5 separate regions of the Homo sapiens genome follow, and regions 1, 3, 4 and 5 are each linked to region 2. Evidence: promoter capture Hi-C in 16 types of primary human blood cells and fetal thymus (Javierre and others, 2016). All regions are on one chromosome and are shown on one strand. The core of a region is centred on a gene start or on the middle of the fragment in contact, and the rest is flanking DNA. Distances in the headings are between cores, read along the strand shown.

The links. Contacts are between HindIII fragments. The CHiCAGO score rates a contact against its expected background, and 5 or more counts as called.
Region 1: a contact is called between a fragment that was not itself captured here and the fragment with the promoter of DLX5 in region 2, in 1 of 17 cell types (total CD4 T cells). The highest score is 5.2, in total CD4 T cells.
Region 3: a fragment that was not itself captured here is called in contact with the fragment with the promoter of DLX5 in region 2 in 1 of 17 cell types (endothelial precursors); the score reaches 5.3 in endothelial precursors.
Region 4: the fragment with the promoter of SLC25A13 here is called in contact with the fragment with the promoter of DLX5 in region 2 in 1 of 17 cell types (M0 macrophages); the score reaches 5.7 in M0 macrophages.
Region 5: a fragment that was not itself captured here is called in contact with the fragment with the promoter of DLX5 in region 2 in 1 of 17 cell types (M2 macrophages); the score reaches 5.6 in M2 macrophages.

The regions. Positions count from the first base shown.
Region 1 is chr7:96,136,624-96,139,323 of GRCh38, forward strand. All of the region lies in intron 14 of SLC25A13 (solute carrier family 25 member 13), which reads right to left. Among named protein-coding and RNA genes, the nearest start is that of MIR591, 82 kb to the right of the region's middle. RefSeq lists an enhancer at 1-538. The HindIII fragment of the contact is 3,047 bases long and covers 1-2,700 here.
Region 2 is chr7:97,023,570-97,026,269 of GRCh38, forward strand. DLX5 (distal-less homeobox 5) reads right to left here and starts at 1,262. Exons shown (of 3, transcript NM_005221.6): 1 at 700-1,262. The coding sequence starts at 1,054. RefSeq lists enhancers at 768-1,484, 2,411-2,700. The HindIII fragment of the contact is 4,218 bases long and covers 782-2,700 here.
Region 3 is chr7:96,035,673-96,038,372 of GRCh38, forward strand. DYNC1I1 (dynein cytoplasmic 1 intermediate chain 1) reads left to right here. Exons shown (of 17, transcript NM_001135556.2): 13 at 1-80. Among named protein-coding and RNA genes, the nearest start is that of MIR591, 180 kb to the right of the region's middle. The HindIII fragment of the contact is 563 bases long and covers 1,032-1,594 here.
Region 4 is chr7:96,320,768-96,323,467 of GRCh38, forward strand. It overlaps SLC25A13 (solute carrier family 25 member 13), which reads right to left and starts at 1,331. Exons shown (of 18, transcript NM_014251.3): 1 at 1,175-1,331. The coding sequence starts at 1,189. RefSeq lists a silencer at 1,127-1,466. The HindIII fragment of the contact is 9,010 bases long and covers 1-2,700 here.
Region 5 is chr7:96,116,142-96,118,841 of GRCh38, forward strand. No RefSeq gene overlaps it. Among named protein-coding and RNA genes, the nearest start is that of MIR591, 100 kb to the right of the region's middle. The HindIII fragment of the contact is 1,713 bases long and covers 531-2,243 here.

The DNA.
Region 1 (2,700 bases), core at 25-2,524, 890 kb before region 2:
TGCTGATAAAGAAGTCAGGGCCAGGGCAGGTCTTTTTGCATGCTAATTCCTGCTTATTCTAGCTGTACCTGCAAACACAGCTCTAAACAGACTATTTCTAATACAGGGAAAGGTAATTACACTCACAAAGGCACCTCTGTGTCGGGCCGGGCACCAGGAGCCAGCAGGTCTGGGAGACGGAGGCTTAACAGAGACTCCAGCAGTGAATGCACATTGTCTAGCACGGGGAAAATGCCAGACTGGGGACCCTGCAGCATTCAAGACAACAGTGGTGCACCTTGTCTGAGAAGGTTATTCAATGCTTCTGGCACCTGTCGTCAGAGCCACCCAGCCCTCTTTTCCTACCTTACAGGTTTAGAATTTATTTGGCATGTATAATTATATATTTTGATCCCAGAGCTACAAACAATGGGCAGCATGTCATGACTTGATCCCTTAGCATTCCTCTTGGCTTCCCCCAAGCAAGTTAACCCTTAGATACACAGCTTGGCAGTGCCTCTCCAGCCCAGTCAAAGGATGGTTAGACCCCACCTACATGGCTGAGATTTGAGGAGGGTGAGTTTGAGTGTCTTGCTGAGAAATAGCAATGGTGCCAAGACCTATTATGTGATTGTGTCACTTGTGTTAAAACCAAATAAGCCAGCCAACATTTGAAGACTTGATATCAGTGAACATGGAAATTACTTCAATTTGAATATGAAATATGAATGACTATTACTTGGCTTCTTTAATCCAGGGACTTTAGGGATATGGGTTCTCCTTAATTTCATTGCAATTCTAACAAAATCATCTTGACAACTCTGTTTCTTGTAGGAAATGCTGCTTGGGTCAGTGCTAGTTCTCTATTGTTCTAGTATTGTACACTGCTTTGCCATCAACAATGCTCATCACTGAGATGGACTGAAAATCCTAGACATGGTACAGAGGAATGTTATCACATGGAATTTTAGTCCTGAAGCTGCTAGTCATGTCACCTTCACAAAGCTCATCTGTAAAACATGTTCCACCTTTTCTTTATTTCTTTATTATTATTATTTTTTGAGACAGTGCTGGAGTGCAGTGGTGCAATCTTGGCTCACTGCAACCTCCACCTCTGGTTCAAGCAATTCTCCTGTCTCAGCCTCCCAAGTAGCTGGGACTACAGGCGTGCGCCACCATGCCCAGCAAATTTTTGTATTTTTAGTAGAGATGGGGTTTCAACATGTTGGCCAGGATGGTCCTGACCTTTTGACCTTGTGATCTGCCCGCCTCAGCACTCTCTGCTGTGATTCTGGGGGCTGCCTGATTCACGAATCATTCATTGTACAATTAAACTCCCTTACTTTGGCTGAAGTTTTACTTTTAACAAGACTAAACATTTACCACTTTTTTTGCTATTCATTCCTGACACATCTCCACCTGGGATCACCTTCCAGAATTTCCTTCATTAAGGTTCTACTGGTGACACACTTTCTGAGTTTTGCTAGTCTAAAAAATATCTTTACCCTTGTTCTTAAAAGCAATTTTTACAGGGTATACAAGTCTAGGTTGAAAAGTTTTTTTCCTCCACATACTGAAGACACCCCATTCAACTGTCTTCTGGCTTCCACTGTTGCCATTTTTAGGTTAGCCGTCAGTTCAACTGTTGCCCCTTTGAAGGCAAATTGACTTTTTTTCTCTGGCCACTAAAGAGCTTCTCTCTAGCTCTGGTGTTCAGCAGTTTTCCTCTGATGTGTCTAGTCTGGATTATTTTCAATTATCCTACACCTGCAATTTGTTGCATTTTTTTCTTTTTCTTTTTTTTTTTTTTTGAAACAGAGTCTTGCTCTATCACTTAGGTTAGAGTGCAGTGGTGCAATCATGGCTCACTGCAGCCTTGACCCCCTGGGCTCAAGTGCTCTTCCCCCCTCAGCCTCCCAAGTAGCTGGGACTACAGGTGCATGACACCATGTCTAGCTAATTAAAAAAATATTTTTGTGTAGAGATGAGGTCTCACTATGTTGCCCAGGCTGGTCTTGAACTCCTGCACTCCCAAAGTGCTGGCACTAGAATTATATGTTTCTCTTCTCTTGCCCCTTAACATAGATCATTTTTAAGGCAATGATACTGTACACATCTTTGGTACTCTAGCATCTAATAGTGTTAGCATTCAATATACATTTGGTGAAAGAATAAAAGAATGGTTAAAAAAATTGATCATTTGCTGTTACTTTAAGGAATCCTTTTTTTCTGGTGTCTTTAGCACACTCAATTCCTCTGGGCATTGTTTTATAAAAATAATATTTTTCAAGCCATCTCCTTTTAATTTGCTATTCTAAAGTTCAAAGCAGAAGACCTGGCCTGGAGAGGTTGTTGACCACACAGCATTGGAAATTACCCAGGACTGGAATAATGTGGAAGAAACTAGGTATTCCTGCAAGAATCCCTTAGTTGACACTCAATAATGAAAAGTTGATAACAACTAACACATCATGTGTACTATGTGCTCAACTCTATCCTGTATGCTTTACATGCATTATTTTAGTAAATCCACACAACGATACTATGAATAGGTAGGTATGATTATTATCCTCTTTCTACACACGAGTCAATGATTCATCTGAAGCACAGGGGAAGTTTCGTAAAAAGAAAAATTTTTTTTTCAAACTAAGTATTGGGTACTATGCTCACTACCTGGGTAACTGAATCATTCATATCCCAAATCCCAGCATCATGCAATAT
Region 2 (2,700 bases), core at 12-2,511:
TTTCAAAGCGGACGAAAAAGGAGGACGGAAAGACAAATTGTGGGCGCCTATGGAGACAGAAAAAAAAATCTATCCTACAACGTGACCCCTCAGCAACCCTCCTCCACCTTTAAATGGCTTTTTGTTTTTGGAAATGCCTGGATAAACCGCAAAACTCTCGGCGCGCTCTTCTCTGGCTGGCTACAACTCCTTAACCCCCCCACCCCCACCCAGCGTGCTCAGGGCACCCGCACCGTGCTAGCTTGTGGCGGCTCTCAAACTAATCCTGACTGAGTTTTTGAGGCAGCCTTCTATTCCCACTCGCACCAACCCAGCACGCTTACCAAAATTCCCAAGTAACCTTCTCTTTGTTACGCAAACGCCAGGAGCTGCTTGATTCTTTCTTCTCTCCACCCCTATCCCCTTTCCAGCCTAGCCGGCTTCCTGGCCGGGCAAGCTGGGAATTCAGCGACTGAAGGGCCTTGGAAGGTGCCGGAGGGGAGAGACGCTAGTTCGAACCTCCACAGGGCTCTCCTACTAAAAATCCCTAAAATGCTGGCCCGAGAAACTCTCTTTGTTGGAGGGTCTGAGTCCTACTCCCTTCTGCCGCGTGCGCCCCCACTGCCGTGAACCGCTGTGACCCCCAATCTACCACCCCATCTCGCGCCCCCAGCGTCCTAGTCGCCCTGTATCTGCCCAGCCTTCCCCCTGTCCATGTACCTGGCTGGTTGGTGGCGCTTGGGACGCGGTTGTAGGCGCCGCCGTACTGGTGGTAGGAGCTAGCGTAGCTATAGTCGGCATAAGCTTTGGCTGGGTAGCTCCCGGCGGAGCCGTTCACGCCGTGATACTGATACTGGTAGGGGTTGAGAGCTTTGCCATAGGAAGCCGAGGTAGGAGAGCAGTAGCCGTGCGGGGCTCCCCCCGTAGGGCTGTAGTAGTCAGAATCGGTAGCTGAAGACTCGGGCAAAGTTGGCGATTCCTGAGACGGATGGTGCATAGCTGCGGACGTCTGGAACGGAGCTTGGAAGTCGCCGGATCGGATGCTGGGGACCCTTCTGTCAAACACTCCTGTCATCGCTCACGGGCGGCGGCAGCGGCTGTCCTTGCTGTTGTGGCGGCGGCAGCTGCCCTAGTTGGCTGTGGGGCTGCTCTGGTCTAAGCAGACATGGCTGTGGGAGCGAGGGAGGAGGAGGAAGAGGAGGAGGAGAGAAGGAGGAGGCGGCGGCCGCGGCGAGGAGGAGACTGGGAGTCGTGAAGTCTCTGTCTCCGGCCGGCTGACTGCTGGCTGAGGCGCAGCACAGCCTTGGTTAAATCCTTAATTGCGCGCTTACGCACAGCGGGGTGGATCTGGTTCTATTGGCCAGGGCCTCGGGAGCAACAGTAACACCCTAACTCGTCCAACTAGTTTTAGCACAACAAAGCATTGCTTAAAAAGGGGGTGGGGGGTACTGAGGGGGTGTGTGTGTTTGTGTGTGTGCGCGCCCGCGCGCTTGTGTGTGTTTTTGCTTGTTGTGGAGTGGGGAGGGGTCTTAGTCTATCTGTTTTTAGTAAATTCCAAAGACATCGCAGAAGCCACAGCACAAGGCTCTGTGATGTCTGGGGACAATGTGTTCCAATCAGAAGCCTCAAAAGTGCACATGTTTTGGGAATGAGGTGGGCGACCATCTTTCCTTGCTTCCCACTACCCCGCCCCCGTGGGCTGCACCAAAGGCGAGTGTAGAATTAAACACTGATACTGAAATAGGGAGTCAAGGTGCAGGGAGTGGGGAGCGGGGGGATGTAGGATGGAGGCAAGAAGGAAGGGAAACAGCATTTTTTTTTTTTTTAGTGGAGTGTTGGGAAGCAAGTTGTAACTTACATGTTTTGAAAATTTGCTCTTTGGGGAAAGAGGCAACTTCCTTTGCAGGAGATGAGTATCTCCCGGACGCGGGCTGGACAGGAATGCCCAAGAAGGCACAATGTCCATTAAGCCGGTGAATGGCAGGGAGAGTTCCTGCAGCCCAAAGTCCTTATAATGACTTTTAAAAATTACTGTCTTAAACACATATAACTTAAGGAAGCCCAAATCCTCGTTGCTGGCTTGCAAAAAGAGCCAAACAGCTCCACTTCTGTTTAATATTTTCATCTATTTTCAAGACATTGGAATAAAGGCTCTTTAACTATGTTCAGTGGCCAAAGACTCCCGCAAAGGTGAATGGATCCATGTATAACCTGCCATACCTCCAGGAAAGAATGGGAAAGTCTCGGAAGTGGGGAAGGAGACAAGGATCAAAGCCTTTGCAAAGTCAGATGATGCTCATTGATTTCCCCCTCCTGGCTCCATGAATGTGGCCCAGTCTCTCCATTTCCCAGACCCGGGTTTCTGTACCCTCTCCCCTTTATTTCCTGCTGCAAAGACATCCTACTTAGCTCGTATGCAAGGGAAGAAAGGATTCAAGAATCATTCAGTTGATACACGAGATCTAAACTTTGCTCTTCAGGAGGTGCTATCCTTGTTCTAGTCGTGATTCAGCTGGGAGTTTAGAAATTCAGCATAAAAGTCTCTCCCAATCCCCATTGTTACTCCCCTCAAATAGGCAACTCCGCGGACTAGATCCTGATTTGGGGCCTTCCTACATCTTCCTTTACGGGGTCCAAGACCGGCAATCTGGGAGTTCCACAGGCTATCTAGGGTTATCTGGCCTCCCCTCCGTTTTCCCTCCTACCGAAGAAGAAAGCGTC
Region 3 (2,700 bases), core at 63-2,562, 990 kb before region 2:
GCTTTCCCAACGGGAGACGTCAATAACTTCGTGGTTGGCAGTGAGGAAGGTACAGTCTACACGGCTTGTCGTCATGGAAGGTGATTTTTCTGTTTCTTTACTGATGACATGTTCTTCATTTCCGAAAGTCTGTTATCACATTCTGGATTTTAACCACCTTGCATTATGAGAAAGCATCTCTGGAAAAATGGAAAGCACGACTTCAACTCTTCATTATCTTAAAGAGCTGCATCTGCTCTGGTCATTAGCTGTTCATAAGACTGTGGTGGTTCACACTGCCTTGAGGGAAAAAAGCTCGAGCTTCTGAGCCTATCATAACAGACCACTTGCACCTTCCCAGCATCTCCGCATACCTTCAGGGTCTAGCCATGTGCCCATCAGAGATAACAATCCCCAAATATTTCTTATCCCTCCATGCCTCAATGAGTTTGCATACTCAACTTCTTTTACCAGTTCTAGCATTTCTCCCTTTTTGGCCTGGTTAATTCCTCCTCATCATTCAAGAGCCAGCACAGAGATCATTCCATGTGAAACATTTTCTGACTCTTGGGCAAAGAAAACCACTCCCACCTTTAAGTCCCATAGAATTTTCAATTCTCTTATTCATTCACTCTTCCAAGGAATATTTACTAAGAACCTACCATGTGCCAGGCATCATCAAAAGGATACATTAAAGAACAAGACAGACCTAGAGTTCATATTCTAGTTGAGGGTAAAATACTAATAAGCAAATAAATATATAGTTTAGGATGGTAAGTGCAATGGAGAAAATTAAAGTAGAATAAGTGGGATAGGACTATAGGCTGTCAAGTTGACAATTTCATATATTTTCCTTATGCTTCTATAATAGCATTAATCGTATTTTAGTTTATTCATTCATCTGCCATTTTTCTCTTACTACATTATTTCCATTTCATCTTTGATTTCCTGCACAGTACCTAGGACATAGTAAGTGAGGAGCTAAAAATATATATTGGGGATAAAGAAATGATATATAATGTAATCCATCCAATCTAAAGAAGTGCCTTAAAAGCTTTCCTCCCAGTCAGATGGGTCAGAACAGAGTGAGTCACACAAACCACCATGCAGTTCCCAGGTGATAAGAACTCTACCTTAACTGAGAGATTCACAATGCCCCTGGAAAAGAGTTGTCAGTATAAAGTGGAATCCAATAGTTTGGACTAGATTGTAAAATTGCATGCAAAACTTAACAGGTGGCCTCATGTCTTTTGAAAGGGTCACTATGTTCACACTGGTGCTTAATTTGTCTTTTACTTTAGTAGTTCTTATTCCATTGATTTTTTTTCATCTCTTGCACTCATCCGAGGCTATTAAGATTTAATGAAGAACCACAAATTGTTCCAAGTTCATATCCCTGTGTTTTTGTGATTTGTAGAAATGACAAGCATCCATGGCTCAGCTATGTGACTTTTTCCATTCAAACTATACAAGCTGTTATGTTCCTGCTGTTCTGCACGTAGAAACAAGCAGTATTTGTCCCCTCACATGATTCAAAGATGACTTAGGAAGATATGCCTCACAGTCCATTCCCAATGATCCTCCTTCATAAACCCTGGCTAAAACCACACATTAAAGCTTTATCAAAGCATAAAAATATTTGATAAAGTTATTCATTCATAAATATATTTGTTGTATGCCTACTTTGAGCAAAGTGCATTGTTAGGTTCTGCAAGGCCTGCAGACGTCATGTAAACCTGGTTTCTCTCTTCAAAATAACTGATGACGGTGAGAAAGATAAATACACAAATATCTGGAACATGAGTAGAATGTCTTAAGTGGCATGAGAGGCATAGAGAGTATAGTAGGCCAGACCTGGAGTCACAGCTTTATCTATATGCGTATTAGAATCAACATGGCATAGGTTCAGTTAACTTAACCCATGGTTTTACCTAGGTCCTTGATTATCTACGAAGGCTATAGAATACATTCATTGATAATTTCCAGATTTTTTTCATTGCTATAAAGTGAATAACATTTTACATGATGAACATTCTTGTTCTGTGGCTACTGTACTTTCTAAGCACTATCAGAATATGCACTTTGGTTCAAAAGAAGGGTCCCTATGGCACACACCACAAATCTTTTTACAACAAGCTGAATTTTGCTTTACATTGGTCCATCCATCTGAAATATAAAATACAGACCTTAGTAACATTGTAACGTAGCAGGCATTGGCTTTGTAGTCATTCTAAATGGGTCATATAGGTCTATGGGGGAGAAGCAGGGGATTGCTATTTTTCACCTAACATAGAGAAGGTGCAAATCCACTTCCATAAATTAAACAAGGTCCTCATTTTGCACCCTATAAATCCTTTCAGGATGCTGTTAAGAGCAAGTGGAGTCTCACCAGGGGCCACTTCAAAGATCAGTTCCTCGGGTTCATTAGAACAAATTTAAATGATCATGTGTGGAACTGCTCTTAGCAGTTTCACTGGGCATAATTTTTGAGTGCCTGTTACATGGAACACGCACTGCCACACTTTGCTCATGATTCCAAATTTTGCTAAGCACATTGACATTTATTGGTGCTCCAGAGGCCCAAATGTTTTAATAACTGAGCTCGTTTTTATTCTTAGTGACATAATATTAGGATTCTACAATTCCTACATATTTGTCATATTTATAACCTCATGCACATGAATATTTTAAATATAGCATTTTTGGTATGTTTTCTCACAT
Region 4 (2,700 bases), core at 81-2,580, 700 kb before region 2:
ACGGATTTGGGGAGCCTGGAGAGACTTAAGTCATAGAACAGCATTTAAATATATTTGTCTGCTTACAATTTCCATTGCAAATGTGATTAGTTTGCTTGAATAAATAGGAATATGATGTGTTGGCCATGTTTTCCTCTTGAGGGTTATCACAGAGTTTTGATTAAGGACAAATGTTTGAAATGTTAGGTATATTTAAGTTCACTGCACTTAAAATGAGCTAAGAAGTTGTATAGGCTTGATTAGAGGGCTGCCTTCGTGAACTTAAATTAAAAGCAATAAATTCCAAATGATTCAAGTGATTGGGACTAAATATGGTATTCTGCCAGAGAAGTTGAAATGCAGTCCAAAGAGACTGAAATGGTGTCCAGGTTTCAAGAAATGGTGAAAGAGGAAAGGTCAAGTGTTGGAGTTGCCTTTCCTCTGGGTTAGTGAATGATTCACATTACACAGAACCCCTTTCAAGTACAACTTCACAGGAGTGACAGGCTCCCAGGACAATCTGTTTCATCGTTCCCAAAAAGAAGCCTCTCAAATGCTCCGAGGCGGGTATCTAAGTGTTGTCAGATGGAGAGAGGGAGGGGGAAGATGGGAATGATGGGAAAGCGGGGAGGGGGAGAGTCCCTGGACTTTTTATTCACAAAGGCGCAGACCAAGTCTCCTAGGCAGTTTCCAAAACGGAAGTCAAAGTAACTTCCCCACCCGCGGGAGGGCGGAGCCCTTGAAACGTAATAGGATCAGGCTTCAGCCCGGGCTCTGGCCCCTGGAAGAAGCCGGAGTCAACAACCAGCGGGGTCAGGAGCAGGAGCGCGCTGGGAAGGTAGAGAGGACCCCCAGCGCTTGCCGGCCCAGGGTGCACCAGGCCCCAGTCGCGCCCGCTCCTCCTCGTCGGCCCTGGCTCAGCCCCGTCAGGCACCAACTTCCCTCCCCGGCCAAGTGGGAGTGTCCGGCCCACAAAGTTTCCGCTGCGAGGTCGGGCCTCGGTCTCTGCACCGACCGCCTGTGCTGCCCGGGAGGAGTGGCCCCCTCCCTCCAGCAGCCGCAAGGTGGAACGGCTGCCCGGCACCCCATTTTGCTCCGCCTGTGGCACCAACCCAGACACGTGAGCGCCCGAGCCTCTCGCACCCCCAGGCTGATCCGGCAGGCGCGCTCCCCCCGGCCTCGGGCCCGCGGTTACCTTGGCGGCCGCCATGATTCGCCCCGGTTGCGGGCGACTGCGGGACCCACTGACTGGCTGGCTGGCGTTTGGGACCCGGGCGGCTCACTTCTAGTCCCGGCGGCGGCGGCGGTGGGGGCGGCGATACGGCCAGGCAGCGTGCGTTCCTGGCCTGCCTCCCCACGCCCTCCCGCCGGCGCGGGTCATGTGGATGCTGCCCGCCCATTGGCTGGGCCCAGCCTTGGCCGCCGGGGTGCGCGTGATCCAGCGGCCTCTGCCCTGCAGCCGGGGAGGGCTCAGATCCTGGGGCAGTGGCTGGACAGGGACACGTGACCCCGCTGCGCTGTCCAGCAGCGGCGGCCTCTGCGGCGTGGGCAGAGGTAACTTGGCCGTGTGCAAGCCCGTCACCTGAGGGCAGGTGGCCCCACCAGGGAAGCTGCTGGCTTCTGCTGATACCAGGGGCTACTGGGCCCTCGGACCGATGGGAGGGGCAAGTAACGACAGATGGTGCACGGCCTGGGGAAGTTGAGAACTCCACTAGGACACATACTTTGCTGGATATTTTTTCCCCTGTGCGTTCCCTTTGAAGGAGCTCCACTTTACACTGGATCCAAAAAGACTTTGATCCAAAAGCATTGACTTAGAAGGCGAGATTGCAAATATTGCTGGCACGCCTACTTTTAGATCAAAATCGGTGAACTCTTAAGAACCCAACAAGTGAATGTAGTGCAGAACGTATATTCATGAAACTACTCCATTTCAGCCCTACCTGTTAAAACGGTAGAAGTCAAAAGGCCCGGGTCAAAAGACTTCCCCCAAATAGGCCCTACTAAAATAAATAAACAAGCATTTTAATGAAAATTTGCTTATATGACCTCCAGGCCTTACTCCTCTTCATCAGGATTTCATTCTTCTGTCCTTGTAATCAAAATTTATAAGACAGTGGTGATCAGGGAAAAGGACTTTTAATGTATTGTAGGTTGTGGATGTAATATGGCAGCAAAAAGCACTTATTACTAATCAGTTTAATTCATTAACGTTGATTGAGTGCCTTCCTACTATGTGCTAGGCACTGTGCTTGGTGCTGGAAACCCCGAAATGACTTAAGAACTGGTTCCAACCGTTAAACAGCTTCAGGGCTATTGGGAAAGAGACACATAAATGTTTACTTCAGTATAACCTGTTAAGGCAGCAGACTGTTCCCAGGGCTCAATAAGAATACTGAGAATTCTCATGCCACTATGAAGAAATACCTGAGACTGGGTAATTTATAAACCAAAAGATTTAATTGACTCAGTTTCGCATGGTTTGGGAGACCTCAGGAAACTTACAGTTGTGGTGGAAGGCACCTCTTTACAGGGTTGCAGGAGAGAGAATGAGTGCCAAGCAAAGGGGGGAAAGCCCCTTGTAAAACCATCAGATCTCATAAGAACTCACTATCACAAGAACAGCATGGGAGTAACCGCCCCCATGATTCCGTTGTCTCTCACCGGGTCCTTCCCATGACATGTGGGGATTATGGGAACTACAATTTAAGATGAGATTTG
Region 5 (2,700 bases), core at 137-2,636, 910 kb before region 2:
TGGAGGAGAATGACAGAAGATAACAAATAATGTTTTCAGTTCTTTTCATCAAGCTGTATTTCCCTTTCCCCATCTTATAGAATAGACTGTAGCACATTTGCACTAGTCTGTTCTGGGATCTTGAGTTCACTTTAAAATCACTTAAAGAAATGCTCCACTGCAAAATGGAGCATCCTCTGAAGGGCCGAAGCCCTGTCCAAAGCAGCGGTAGGCACTGGAGCCTTAGTGGCCAGACCAGTGTGCTGGGGGTGTGTCTGTGACCCAGGAGAAGTGAGGCTCAGAAAAGCACAATTACTGCGTCTTCTTAATTTTCCTTCTAAAGTTATTCGACGGGACTGTGGTTTTGCTTTGAGCAAAACCCGCTTAACGGCTGGGAATCTAAAAGCAAACAACATTATTTTATTAGGTTACCCTAGCAGATGAAAGCAGAGTGTTCCATTTGGACTCTTTTTGGAGTCAATTAATGCATTAGCTAAAAACAAACCCTTTTAAAAGAGAGTTCCTGTTGTCTTCAGCAGCTTCGAAGGGAAAGCTTCAGAAACAAGAGAGGTGAGCTGTAAACAAGTAATACATTCATTGATAAGAACAACTATTGTACTAATACATTTCAACTCGTGTTAGAATGTAAAACTCATCTCAGAGGATGATTTTTTTAAAGTTTTATTTTTAACCAAGACCAGGGAATTTAAATTTATCATATAGTTTATGTGACAATGCCTGACTCAACTAAAGTCAATTTTAAATAGCTTTAGTTGTTTTAATAAAATATTTATTTATGACTTGTAAAGTAAGTGATCAGTACATAAAACTGTGATTGTTTTCAGTTATGGTTTTAACTCCAGCAATAGAAAAGGCCTATAAAGTAGGACAATAATGGAGATCACTCATTTGGGAAAAAAATACGAATAGTTTATTTCCACCCTCACAAACTCATGTGCCTCTGACCATTATGCAAGGCACCATGAAATTAAATACTTATGTCAGAATATATTTGTCTTCCATGATTCAAGATAAAGTGAATTTTAAAAGCAAATGGGTGCCAATGATGGGGAGATGAGGGGAATAGGGCAGGCAGCAACAGGGTAACATGCATTTTTCAAGAGTGTTTCTCAAAAATTCATCCATTCATCCATCCTTCAAAATAATAACTAGGAGCCTCTACTAAGAGAATCAGAGACACAATCCCAACCATCATGGATCCCGATCTGGACTTTCAAGCTGAAGACTGCCACTGTTTTAAGAGACGGAGGTGGCCGGGCGCAGTGGCTCACACCTGTAATCCCAGCACTTTGGGAGGGTGAGCCAGGCGGATCACCTGAGGTCGGGAATTCGAGATCAGCCTGGCCAACATGGAAAAACTCTGTCTCTACTTAAAATACAAATAATGAGTCGAGTGTGGTGGCATATGCTTGTAATCCCAGCTACTTGGGAGGCTGAGGCAGGAGAATCGCATGAACCTGGGAAGTGGAGGTTGAAGTGAGCCGAGATTGCACCACTGCACTCCAGCCTGGGCAACAAGAGCAAAACTCCATCTCAAAAAAAAAAAAAAAAAAAAAAAAAAAAAAAAAAAAAAAAAAAAAAGGCAGAGGTGACAATGCTGTTAGATGCCTCAGACATTAAAATGAAGCAATGAACTCCCCATGGTCTTCCTAACATAACAGAACTCTTTGGTGAAGGTTATTCCCCAAAGGTAAAACAAAAGGCACACACTCCTTTGTGGGCAGTACCATTTGTGGAAAGAACATTTCACTGCTCTGACCAGGGAACGTGTCTCTTAAAAATCTTTGGAAAAATCCACATCCTGAAAGCATTTGATTACCCTGATTTGAAAATGGGATTTTGCTCAGTGGCAAGGATACAAATTCATCCCCACAAGTATGCCTTCTGCGGTAAAAGGCACATGATGACTTTTAGGGACAGTTTATTTGGAAGGTTGATAAATGGGGCCATAAGACAGGACTCATCAAATTTCTTTTTTGAGATCTCCCTCTACCTGAAGCATTCCAGCATGACTTGCATTCTGAATACCTAGTTGGAGGAGGTTACAAACAGTTTCAAGCGCCATTTGTTCCCGTTTTGATTCCCCACTCGCTGGGTTATGTGCTGTTAGACATTTCCAGAAGACTGTCAAAATGTAAGCATCCTGAGGTTTACATAGGCCACGCCATTAAATAACATATAAGCACAACATTTTAAACATTGTTTTCCAGCAATGGTAAATATTTTAGCTAAGTAGAAACTAAAGCTTGAAATGCAATAAGCACTTAAATGACTCCTTTCTGTGCCAGAATTCTTATTTTCCTCTGTGCGACCCTGGCTTCTGGGATTAAGGCAACCCCAGGGAGCTCAGCAAATGGTTGTGGGTTACGAGGTGTAGCAGGAGCTTGGCGACAGCATGCCACCCAGCCTCAAGAAACCCAGCCATGACTGGAACCCAAGAATCAGTGTGTTCACTTTGTGGTCAGCTTCACATTTTTCCCCTCCTTGAAAAAAAAAAAAAGCTGCTATGAAAATCAGACCTCTCTCCCAACCCCCAAGGAATCACGTGGTGGACCAGGAGCAGAGTGGAGACTCGGGGCAGGCAGAGCAGAGGAGGCTGGCCCCCTCACGTAGGCAGGCAAGCAGGCAGGCATGTGGGAGTTACCAGCTTCAGTTCCTCAGCCCTACAGAGGGAAACGACCCACGGCACCAACAACAGCC